2 separate regions of the Homo sapiens genome follow, and region 2 is linked to region 1. The links are contacts of gene promoters, found by promoter capture Hi-C in human tissues and cell types (Jung and others, 2019). All regions are on one chromosome and are shown on one strand. The core of a region is centred on a gene start or on the middle of the fragment in contact, and the rest is flanking DNA. Distances in the headings are between cores, read along the strand shown.

Region 1 (6,155 bases), core at 1,721-4,220:
TTCCAAGGCGATCGGGCAGTGTCAGTCTTCAGCCACTAAGCCGAGAAGATCTGGGAAGGAGTCAGTCAGTGAGCCTTGCGCCAGAGTTCCAGGAACTCTAGGAATGGCTGCCAGGTGAGTTGGACAGTCCAATTTCCAGTGGGGTCCTGCACAGATGGGACATTGCTTAGGAGGAATCCGGGCTGCAGACATTCCTTGGCCCAGTGGCCACATTTTCAGTACTTGAAGCAAGATCCTGGGGTAGGAGGTCTTGGAAGAACGCCTGGCCACTGCGGTTTAGGCGTTTTGAAATTCTTGTATGCTGGAGATGTGGCTGAAGTTTCTCTCACAGCAGAGGCAAGTAATTGCCACTCTTCTCTATTATTGTACACCTTGAAGGCAAGGTTAAGTCCTGTTGTGGGGTTTGAGGGCTGGAATCCAATTTTTGGAGCTTTTTCTAACGTCAGGAGTGGGTTGGGTAATAAAATGCATACTGAGAATAAGACGGCCTTCTGGCCTCTCTGGGTCTAGGGCGGTAAGGCGTTTAAGGGTTGTTGCCAAACGGGCCATGAACTGGGCTGGGGTTTTATATTTGATGAAAAAGAGCCTAACTGTTTTGGGAGAGGTCGGATAAAGAAAACAGGAGCAACAACCTTGACTATGCCTTTAGCTCCAGCCACCTCTTTAAGAGGAAATTGTTGGGCAGGTGGGGTAGGGCTAGTCAAGGAACAAAACCATAAGCCGGACTAGGTGTGAGGAGGGGAAGTGATAGAAGGATTATAGAGTGGGGGAACAGAGGCTGCGGAAGAATTGGGACCTGGCTCAGCCCGGCGAGCAGGGGAGAGGTCAGATGGCTCCACAGAAAAGGAGGATTCAAAGTACTCAGAGCTTGGGGTGGAGACCGAAGGAACACACAGGAGAGAAAGAAGAAAGATTTGGGATGAGTCGCATTGGGAGCAGAGACTAGGGCGGGACTGATGTGTAGAAGAATGCCTGGATGTCAGGAACCTCAGACCATTTGCCCATTTTACGACAAGAATTATCTAGATCTTGTAGGGTGGAGAAATTGAAAGTGCCATTTTCTGGCTATTTGGAACCACTGTCAAGTTTGTATTGGGGTCAGGTGGTATTGCAGAAGAAAATAAGGTGTTTAGGTTTTAGGTCAGGCGAGAGTTGAAGAGGTTTTAAGTTCTTGAGAACACAGGCTAAGGGAGAAGAAGGAGGAATGGAGGGTGGAAGGTTGCCCATAGTGAAGGAGGCAAGCCCAGAGAAAAGAGAGGGCAGAGACACAGGGGGGGTCGGTACTTGACACCAAGGTGAAGGATCAAGGCAGGTGTCCCTGTGGTGATCAGACACCTCTGAAATGTGGGTGAATAATCAGGCAGGCATCCCTGCAGTGATTAAACACCAAGGGAAGACTGTCTTCTCGAGTCCGTGACCAGTGCCGGAGTTTTGGGTTCACGGATAAAACACATCTCCTCTGTCTCTATCAGAAAAGGAAAGGAACTGAAATTAAGGGAAGGGATAGATTGAAGGGTGGTGCCAAAATTGAAAGGAGAAAGAGGTTGAGAGATAGTGAGAGAGGTTGGAGAAGAGAGTAAAAAGAAGCTGCTTACCCAATTTAAAATTGGTGAGATGTTCCTGGAGCTGGTTGGTCTGAGGACCCGAGGTTGTAGGTGGATCTTTCTCACAGAGCAAAGAGCAGGAGGACAGGTGACTGTCTTATCAGTTAAGGCAGGAACCGGCCATTTTCACTTCTTTTGTGATTCTTCAGTTGCTTCAGCATTTTCACTTCTTTTGTGATTCTTCAGTTGCTTCAGGCCATCTGGATGTATATGTGCAGGCTTGGGCTCAGAGGCCTGACATGCGTGTGTTTTGTGTTTTTCTGGATAGGCATGCATTCCTATGGAGGAGGTAAGCAGGGGGAAGGGAGCTCACATTCATCAGACACCTAGTATGTGTAGGAACCTTCTGCATCCCTGGAAGGATGGATGACCCCACATGTGAAACCTCTCGTGTGGTTCTTTTTGGAATTAACTACCATTGCTGAAAAGGGCCTACATAAAATATCAAATTTTAACATGCTGGAATTTTTCTTTATTTTTTTTCTCCTTCAAACATTTGTAGCTCTTTATATGTGGTATTTCCTCTGTGTCAGAAGGGAAAGAGGGTGCCCTTTGGGGAAGTTCTCTTCCAGACTCCTAGAAGAGAATCTGATTTACCTTAAATGCACAAACAAGGCCTTGCCATGTCACTGGCCAACCGCAGACAAACTACTTCAGTCACAGAAATAATTTGGACACTTTTGCTTTTTAAGGAAAAGATGATTTCCCTGGATTTTTTTCCTGTGAGGACGAGGCATTCCAAAACCCCAGCGGGGTCAGGCACAGTTCGCCAACTTTATGTTTTGGGGGGCAGCGCATTTGCTTCCCGAAGTGAGTTGCGAAACCGTTTTCTAGCGCGCACGGGGCTTTCATCTCTTCCGTGCATGCGAACGGCTTTCCGAGATGCCCCCTTTATGGGCTTGGCCATCGCTACTTTTGTTACAAATTAACGTCTGGGACTCGGACTGCTGCCAATAGGAAACTCCCGCGATTCGCTGCCTAGTTCGCCGCCCTCACAAGACTGGACTCTGCACAGGCCATCCATGCCCGCTGGTGCACCTCGCTCTCTCGCACGCTTAACCCGCGGGGACGCCCCCGACCTCCCACCTCAGCCCTCGCCACAGTTAGTCCCGCCCTTCCGCGCAGACTCCGTGGAGTCCTGTCACGCTCTCCGCGCGCTGCGGCAGCCGGGAGATTGTGAAGGGCACCTCCGGCAGCCAATTAACACCCGCATACTGGGCGGGACCACGCTTGGGCAGGCGGAGGGGGTCGACCGAAGGCGGGGACTTTTGAGTGACAAGGATGATGGCCAACCGTCGGAGGCCCTTCTACTGCGCCCCGCCCCTGAGCCGGCCGCCCAGCCCCCAGTGGGGTTCCCGGCGCGGGGAATGTCCCGGGTGGAGCTGGCTGAGTCGCGCGCTCTGCTCCACCCGACGGGGCTGTGTGTGCTGGGCCTGGCTCGCGGCGAACCGAGATGGCAGAGCAGTCGGACGAGGCCGTGAAGTACTACACCCTAGAGGAGATTCAGAAGCACAACCACAGCAAGAGCACCTGGCTGATCCTGCACCACAAGGTGTACGATTTGACCAAATTTCTGGAAGAGGTGAGTTGGGGATGAGCGGCTTGGGGCGCAGGGAGCGTGGGCCGGGTTTGGGGGTTCACTGGCATGACCTGTCTTTCGCGGCCCGGAGTCCGCATACCTACGCCTAGGCGCGCCCCCCGAGTTCGCTCACCTGCGCGTGTACGCCTGGGCGCGCTTCCGAGTCCGCACACCTGCGCGTGCAAGCCTGGGCGCCCCCCACCGCCCCAAGTCCGCACACCTGCGCGCTCACACCTGGGAGCGCTCCCCGAGTCCGCACACCTGCTAGTGTACACCTGGGCGCTCTCCTCGAGTCCGCACACCTGCGCGTGCACACCTGGGGAGCGCTCCCTGAGTCCGCACACCTGCGCGTGTACACCTGGGAGCGCTCCCCGAATCCGTACACCTGCGCGTGCACACCTGGGAGCGCCCTGCGCGGCGGCATCCTCGCTAGGTGGTGCTGGAGCAGCCTTCCGGGGATAGCGCGCAGCCATGCGGGGGATTTAAATGATCCCTTTCTCCCTTGAGTTTGAATAGAAGGGTGTCCTTCCAGGACCGGCGGCATTCCCGCAGTGGCCGGCTGGAGACCACCCACCCCGAGAGCTGCGGATCCCGCCGGAGGGGACCCCAAGTGCGGAGGTCGGGTGTGGTCCGGGCCTGCGCTTCCCGCGGCAGCCACTGGCCGACCTTGCGGTCCACACCCACTCGCGTTCGCGTTCACCTGGAAGAGGCTCGGTGTTAATTAACCTTTTCCAGTCACGCCTTGGCAGCCAGGTGCCGTGCTTGACTCCTGAGACCGCGGTGTGTGGCTGGAGCAAGAACACAGAGGCCAGGCAGAGCAGCGGACGTTCTGCGTGGGACTCGCCCCTAACAGCTTTGGAAGGTGTAATAGGAAACGTTGGTTAACTTGAAGACATTCCTTTGATAAGATTCTTTGCATTCGGTTATAATTTTTGCCGCACACGCTAAGGGGCGCTTTTGGTGATTGTCTTAGATCCTCTGGAAGTGTTTTACTACTTTTGGGGGAGTCTCAATCATAAATCTTAACGCATGCTCACGCCCCCTCCCAATAATGAGAAGGTTTAGTGATGGGAATTTTTTACATAGTCGGGGAGCAGGGGACAAAAATAGATGCCTGGTCTGAGCTGGATCACAGTTTATATCAGAGGACTTTGTTTTTGCAGAAAATGTTAAAATCAAAAGGCCTGTTTTAAAAAATGAGGCTGGGCCAAGCACGGTGGCTCACACATGTAATCCCAGCACTTTGGGAGGCTGAGGCGGGTGGATCACTTGAGTCTAGGAGTTCGAGACCAGCTTGACCAACATGGCGAAACCCCATCTCTAACCAAAATACCAAAATTAGCCAGGCCTGGCGGGGCACGCCTGTAGTCCCAGCTACTCGGGAGGCTGAGACAGGAGAATCCCTTAAACCTGGGAGGCAGAGGTTGCAGTGAGCCGAAATCGCACCACTTTGCTCCAGCCTGGGGGACAGAGTGAGACTCTGTCTCTAAATAAATAAATAAAATTAAATAATAAGGCTGGAGTTGATGTTTATTGGTAAGGTATTTCACTCTGGAGCAGTGCCCGAAGATAAAGTCATGTTACCATTTAGTAAGGAGGGGTTTATGTTGGGAAATCAGAGCTGACCTGTCCTCTCCCTCCTGCCCGGCTGCAGATCTTGTCATATAACATCAATTCTCATTAACTCTAAATGTGGAATTTTAAGATACAGTGTGTGCTTTGTCTATTTGTGCTTATAGAAGAAGTAGCATAAGAGAATATTAGGATATTTTATATTATGAAGCATTTTCTTCTTTTCTTGTCTTCTCCTAAAGCGAGTTTTTTCAACCCTGGCACTGTTGACATTTTGGGCCAGCCGATCTTTGTTGTGGCGTCTGTCCTGGGCATTGTAGGATATTGAGCCACCTCCCTGAGTTCTACCCACTAGATGACCGGTACCACCACCTCCCCTATTTTTTTTTTTTTTTTTTTTTGAGACAGAGTTTTGCTCTTGTGGCCCAGGCTGGAGTGCAATGGTGTGATCTCGACTCACTGCAACCTCTGCCTCCTGGGTTCAACCAATTCTCCTGCCTCAGCCTCCCAAGTAGCTGGGATTACAGGCGCACACCATCACGCCCAGCTAATTTTTGTATTTTTAATAGAGACAGGGTTTCAACATGTTGGCCAAGTTGGTCTCGAACTGCTGATCTCAGGTGATCCACCCACCTTAGCCTCCCAAAGTGCTGGGATTACAGGCGTGAGCCACTGCTCCCAGCCCTACCTCCCCTATTTATAGCAACCCAAAATGTCTCCAGATATTGCCAGAGGTCCCCTAGGGCACATAATCTCTCCAACTTGAGAATTACTAAGGTTACTGTGCATGACTTTAGGGGTAGATTTTCAGAGACGATAATAGGGAAGTGAAGATTATTGTTAAAATGTACTCAAAACTATTTACTTTCACATTTCATTCCTGTGAGTCAGGAAAGGAGGGATTGTGCAAAAAATTTTCCGAGAAAAACTGAGAGATGAGAGCAAGCTCTTGAGTGGGTAAATTAGCTGAAAACAAATTTCTTTATTTTTTCTTACTCAAAGTTTTTGTGGAGAATGCATCTCAAATAAAATGAACAAGAGGGTGGCTGACCCCTGGAACGGCTAGGAGGATGGCGTGAGTGAGGAGGCTGGGGTCTGGGAGAAACACAAGGAGTTAGTTTGGTTTTGGTCCTGTTGACTTTAAGAGGTTGGAGGGATCTTCAGGCATTGCGAGAACTGCATGCGTTTCTGCCTCCACTGTCTGCCAACATGTGGTTCTGGGAACAAGCAAGGCCACTTAGCCTTTCACTGGATTGTGTCTGACCTCTGGGCACCTCCCGATTCGACCTCTTATGGACGTGTTTTTCCATTTGCCGTCTTTATTATTTGCTTTGACTTTCTGTGACCATCTCTTGCTTATTGCATGTCCTGGTCATTGGCTTCCCAGCCCCCGGCAAAGC
Region 2 (6,759 bases), core at 1,777-4,276, 160 kb after region 1:
TAGTTATAGAATGAATTAGAGCAATTTCTACATTTCCCTTCCTTAATGATTGTTGTAGTTTACGTAGTTGAGATTTGTTTGTTTCCCCAAGCCTCATGTTGAAATTTGATCCCCAGTGTTGGAAGTGGGGCCTAATGGGAGTCATCTGGGTCATGGGAACAGATCCCTCCTGAATGGCTTGGTGCCTTCCTTGTAGTTCTTGCTCTAGAGCTGGTTGTTTAAAAGAGCCTGGCAGACCTCCCTTCCTTCTCTCTTGCTCACTCACTCTATTTCTCTCTCTCTGCCGTGTGATCTCTGCACAGTTGGCTCGCCTTGGTTTTCTGCCACGTGTAGAAGCTTCCTGAGGCTTCACCAGAGGCAGATGCTGGTGTTGTGCTCCTTGTATAGCCTGCAGAACTATGAGCCAAATAAACCTCTTTCCTTTGCAGATTACCCAGCCTCAAGTATTCCTTTGTAGCAACACAAAGAGACTATGACAATGATCTAATAAGAGATGAAGGTGGTCACTAAAAGAAAGCACAGCAAGGCATTTTTCAAGGAAGGAGTCAACCAAATATCTAAAACTAGCATTCTGGAGGGTTCCCACTTTATTTAAGGGTAGAACTCAGACTCTTCAGATAAGCTGATACATTGTATATTTCTTAGTTTCTTTACTGTCTTCTCTCTCCACTTCACCTGCATGGTGAAGAAACCAGGCCTGGAATCAGATTTGGAGCATGGCTCTAGTGATGTTTTTTGCATACTTTTAGTATTATTTGTGTGCCCTCCTCACTTTCTTGGAAGTTGCCGTTTGGAAATATGAGCTACTGATGAAATTGCACTCACATTTCTTTTCTTTTTCAAAAGACATATTTAATTGTGCTAAGTTGAATTGCACTTTTTAGGTCCTGTTAAAGGACCTAAAGAGTCATAGTCTGACTCTTAAAGTCAACGTCTGATCATGAAGTCAGACTACAGAAAAGGATGTGTGATAATTGAACAAGTAATCAATATGTGTTTTTGAAAAGTTTACAGTGTATTCTAAGCGTTACTTCTGAAGAGAGGGCAAGCACACATAGTGTAGTGAGTTACACTGATGACTTATGGGCAGGCACACTTGAAGGGCAGGGGGCTCCCCAGTGCCCCATCCCAGCAGCGGGGCTACTCCCTTCTGTGTGAGCCCTGTCTCTGCGTGAGAAAAACAGGGGTGTGTGGATGAGGTGACATCTGGTTTATCACAAGGGGGTTTTATTTGCCATGTACTCTGGCAAACACTATTTATCTGAACATTAAATTGGCCCCATTTTCTAAACAACTTGTTTGAGTTTCCCTGAGCCTGTTGGTAGTTCTGTTGGATAAATATGCCCTCGTCCTCGAATCTGACTAGGCCTTCTAACAGGATGGAGCATTTGGGGATCAAGAAGTAAATGTGTTTGGAGACTGTGAAAGGTATCTGAACCTTAACATTTGTATATTATAAAAAATCAAGGGGAACCATCTGCAATATAAAATGTTTTCACTTAGGTTCACTTACGGTAAGTAATATATGATCATGTATGTGAACATAGTTCATCATACGAATGTTAGTTGTGGTTATGGTTACTCACTGCATGTGGAGTTTATGCTGTGATTCCCATCTCTGCGGCAGTGTTTGTTTTTGCAGTTGGTAAGTGCTAACACATGTAAAAATAGTATCAGAGGTTGTTTAGATAGTGCTGATGTGAGGAATTCAAGGCTCCATAAAGGTCCTGCTAAAGGAATACTTACATAGGGTGAGATGCTGAATAAAATAAATGTGAAGAAAACACAAGCAAGCTTTTATGCAAAGGGAGTTTTAAAAGTGTCTATTCAAAGGATTTTGGTGAAACAGTTTCAGCTTTACTTAAATGTACTCAACTCATCATCGCATTGCATCTGTCCGCTTACATAGGAAAGTCTAGAAATTTCTGAATTGAAAACACAAACACTTTAATATAAAAGCTAGGCATGAAGTGATTTTGCAGAGTGAGAAATGACTGAGAAACCCACACTAGGAAGAGAATTCAACCAGGGTCTGACTGTATGTGAGCTTGCATTTGTTGGGAAGTCCATGTAATGTCTGAGTCAAGGAGGTGGTGTTCCAAAGTCACGTGTTTGAGAAATGGTCCTTTTCTGCTGTGGTTAAGGAAATAGCTCTGCCTCCCCAGAGCACCCAGTTATCCCCAGGGGTCCTGCTGCAGTTCAGGACCACTGCTCTGTGGGGGAATCGCTTTTTCCTTGCAGCCTCCAGGCCGTTGACTGCTTCATCCCATGCTGCTCTGAGTAGTAATGTGGAGACCTAAATGAGCAAATCATTAATGTTTAAAATGCAAAGTTTGCCTTTCAGATAAGGAATTGATTTTAACCGCTGCCTCAGTTTTCCCTGTGTCTTCCTTCTCTTTCCTGGTGGAGAGTACTGGCTGAGAGGGAGGAGCTCTCAGGCCAGCTCACTGCCACCACTCGTGGGGCTTCTCCTGCCCTCTTAGTAGAGATGAGTGGAAGGAACAGACTTTGAGTCAGAGCTGAATTTGAATTCCAACATTGAGGCTTATTGGCTCTCTGAATTTGGGGAGCTTATTCAGTTTCTTTGACCCATTTCTTTGTGATTGAAGAGGCAGTGAAACCCAGGTGATAAGAGTGTGAGCTCTGGTTCCGATCCCAGCTTCACTATACACTTGAGTGCACAGACCTGGGCCAGCTCACCTTGCATCTGAGCCTCAGTTACAGCATCTATGCAGTGGGGACAGGAATACCAGCACCTCCTGGTTTCTTTCTGAGGAATAAATGAGTCATGTATAATACATAAAGTGGTTAAACGATGCTTGACACATAGTAAGTGTTGACAAAATTTAATGTTAACTATTGTTTAGTTGTTACCATTAAAAACCTTCACTTTTTTTCTCTTTGTGAAAGCGTATTCCTTGTTGAAAGTTAAAAAATAGCAAAAAGAGTGTTCAATTCCATTGTTCCCTATTGAAATTTCTTGGTGTGTGTACATACATCCTTTCTGATCTTTTTAAAAGCATGTATGTATTTAAAAACAAGAATCATACTACATATACTTTCTGTTATGTTTAAATAATATATTTCCTATTCCATTACTGGTATAAGAGGGCAGTCGTTTGGATGATCCTAAATAACGTGAGATTACTCACTTGAGACCTGACCCTGGGAAATGGGCTTTTCCTTTTTTTAAAATGTGTTTTTGGTGGTGTTGAATTTAAAACACTAAATCTCAAACTGCAATTCACTTTAACAGATGAACGTTCAACTGTAAATATTCAGCTTGGCTTATTCATGGAATTGGATTATTTGAAAATATGCATCTCTAATTTGATATATTATGACTAAGGTAGGTGACAGTGTCTCTTAGTTAACATATTTCCTCTTTTCCCTCCAGTTTTATTTGGATCGGAATCTACTCAACTGCTTTTTCACCTGCAAGATCAAATTGGAAATTTAATTCAGTAGAGAAGATAGCTATGTCTATGAGCTTTCTGTCAGTTCAGGATAAAGAAGCTGGTTATTGGAAGAAAGAATATATCACAAAACAAATAGCATCTGTAAAAGCCGCACTAGCTGACATTCTCAAACCTGTCAACCCTTACACAGGCCTTCCAGTTAAGACCAAAGAGGCCCTCAGGTACGCAGTGTGTTCCAAAAGAGAATGATGGCATCAGCTCAAAGTATCGTGTACGTAGGACGTATGTGCAGTTTAGATTGTGTGGGACTGTCTCTAGTATTTTTGTGTGTTTTGTGCATCTATAAAATATGTATCATTTTCCTATTCCGCATAGCCTTCTGCATCTGCTGATTCAACCAACTGCAGATCAGAAATATTAGTGGGGGGGAACTTGAAACAATAATAACAGTATAAAAAAGAATACAAATAAAACCAGTACATTATACATAATAACAACAGTTTGCACAGCATTTACATTGTATTAGGTATTATAAGTAATCTCAAGATGATTTAAAGAATACGGGAGGAGGTGCATAGGTTATATGCACATACTATGCCATTTATATAAGGGACTTGAACGTCCACAGATTTTGGTATCATGGGGTTCCTAGAACCAATTTCTTGCGGAGACAGAGGGATAACTAGTAAGTAGCCTAAAGTTTTAATGAAAAGCAGAAGTAACCTACTTATCTGCTATAGTACAATAAGAATGTTCAAGGTCTCTTTTCTGGGCAGAACCTTTGTCTTATTTATATATTGCCAGTACCTGGAAAATCATGGATGTTCAGTGGGTGTTAGGTGAGGAGAAAAAGTCTAAAGAGAGTACTATTGTTGAAGTGAAAATTATACTGGGCACATTCTGAGAATTTTGACTTTGGCTTTTAAGGAACTAGATGCTTTAGAGAAGATACATGAAATTGCCTTTAGCATTTTTTTTTTTTCAATGAGGCAAACATTGTTAGTTTTTTTTTCTTTCTCCAGAATATTTGGTTTAGGTTGGGCAATTATACTGAAAGAAAAAGGTGGAAAAGAATATATCATGGAGCATGTTGATCTTTCCATAAATGACACATCAGTTACTGTTATATGGTATGGCAAAAAATGGCCATGCCTAGCATCATTGTCAACCTTAGATTTATGTGGCATGACACCAGTTTTTACCGACTGGTATAAAACTCCCACCAAACATAGGTAAGTACCAATCAGCAGAACTGTTGAGTGAGAGCATCTTATATGTAAATATTAGTTGGCATTACTTTTGTAATTAAAAAATAAGAGCAGCGTTTTTTAATTTTATCACATATTAAATGTACATTCTGCATTAATGCAGAAGAGGAAAAGAGTGCATTTTATCACATTTCTGATTAGGTCTAAATTTAACTTCCTCGTATCTTGGGGTTGTCTTTAATGGTAAAGAATGATGTTCTAGTTAACAAAATTTCCTGGATGATTGATGGCTAACCTTTGAGGTTTTTCATTTTAACCATCTTAACAGAAAGATATATGTTATCTTCCTTCTTTAGTAAATGGTATACTAATCATAGTCTAAATATGAGGAAACCAAGTCATAATTATGAGTTATTTTGTCTGCCTTCTGTTGAACTTACTAGATATGTGATCTTGTGCAAGTAACTTACTCTTTCTGTGTCTCCATTCTCTCCTCTATGAAATGGAATGATCGTTATACTGGCATAGTATTTAGCATATATGACTGCAATGAATAAGATCGATCAAAAGATATCACTATAAAATGCGTAGATCAGCTAAGTGTGCAGCACATGGGTAATGCTTAGTGAGCCCTTTACTATTCTGTTGTCAGGTGGCTTTGCACTGAGTCCATACTCACTATGAGGCTGGCATTCTGCCTTTCTGAGCAGCTCTCTCGGGCTGTCTTTTTCATCATTGATTGCTTCCTCCTAAAAGCTGGATTATGGCATGCATAGCATCCTCATCTCTGGAGCAAGCTAACATAGCTTTATATAAGATATATTGCAAATATAAAGGTAATACCTGCCTTCTCCTGCGTTGGTTTCCTGCCCTCCCATCTCCTTCACTGTCTCAGTATTCTTTGACTTTTCAGGAGTATTTACCATGTCGTTTTCTTACCATCCTTGCGTGCTGCAGTTCCACCCATTGGTTTCTCTCCTGTCTGTCCTTGCTATGGAGGATACTGTGATATCTGACATTAGTGCCTGCCATCTCTATGGAGGGACAGGGTTCTTTCATGGTTTCCCTGGATACAGACACTTTTTTTTTTTTTTGCAGCTCTGTAACTGGGGACCTTGTTTTTGGCTCCTCTCCATGGCGCCTGCTCTTTGAGCATTGTTTTAGTGATTACTGAGCTCTCTTCCCATGCTCTGAATGTAAGACTATTCAGACCTCTTGGTGCTGGCAAATCCAGGTTTTATTGTACTCTAAAAATATTCTTAATGTTATGATGAAAAATGAATTATTTTTCCTAAATATATTACTGAAGATACTTTGGAAACAGTTACCTTTTAAAAAATGGTACTTTTATTTGGATAAATCTTTGAAATTTCATACGGGATCATGAAGGAAGCCAGCTTTTTCTAATGTAGTAATTAGGCTTTATGCATTTCAAAATTACGTTTGGAGAACAAGTCCACAAACTGTACTAGTTTTGCTAAACAATATGTTACTTGGCATATCATGAAATGTTACTTACAGATATTAGGACAAACTGGCTAACATTAATTCAAATGATCCTGAAGAATTAAGTTAAATGGATAATGTTGAATTATAAAGCTCAGTTAAAGACAGTATTTCCCTGAAATGGTCATCAAGGTCAGAAGTAATAGATACTACATAGTGCCCAATGCTAGAATTCATTGGGAAAATTCATTTGATGTAATTTATTTCTGTGAAACTTCCATGGACTCCAGCCAGCCTTTGATCAACTGTGATAAACAAAACTAAAAGTGTTTTTTAGGATTTGTTTTGATCGGCACTTTTATTGCAAGTTTGTAAGTGAATGCTTTCATTGTGCAGGAATATAAATCCTTGTACGCATCTGTGTGACAGCCAAAAAGAGCCTTTGTGATTTTTATTTGGGTCTTTTTTGTTTCCTCTATGAGAAGTTTTTCAACAACAGTGAAAGCCTCATTGATGTAATCTGGATTTCCCTGTAATTTATACCTTTCTAGTCAGACTCCAAATTTTCTTCCTTGCCAGCACTTTCTGCTCTGCAGCTTGTGCTGTCCCACCCTAAATTTGTGAGAACTGCTGGGGAAACGTCAGCCTTAGTTTCTGTGTCTGTGGCTGTAAGGCCAAGCACATGA

Evidence for each region. The method cuts DNA at HindIII sites, captures the fragments that hold promoters and counts their contacts. A contact is called where the count stands out against the background at its distance.
Region 2: a contact is called between a fragment that was not itself captured here and the fragment with the promoter of CYB5A in region 1, in 1 of the 25 tissues and cell types used here (dorsolateral prefrontal cortex).

The regions. Positions count from the first base shown.
Region 1 is chr18:74,288,778-74,294,932 of GRCh38, reverse strand. CYB5A (cytochrome b5 type A) reads left to right here and starts at 2,970. Exons shown (of 5, transcript NM_148923.4): 1 at 2,970-3,186. The coding sequence starts at 3,058. RefSeq lists enhancers at 1,882-2,051, 2,411-2,470, 2,760-2,929, 3,009-3,178, 3,784-4,391. The HindIII fragment of the contact is 8,147 bases long and covers 1-3,172 here.
Region 2 is chr18:74,127,297-74,134,055 of GRCh38, reverse strand. FBXO15 (F-box protein 15) reads left to right here. Exons shown (of 10, transcript NM_001142958.2): 4 at 3,398-3,640; 5 at 4,442-4,651. Among named protein-coding and RNA genes, the nearest start is that of FBXO15, 17 kb to the left of the region's middle. The HindIII fragment of the contact is 3,921 bases long and covers 1,066-4,986 here.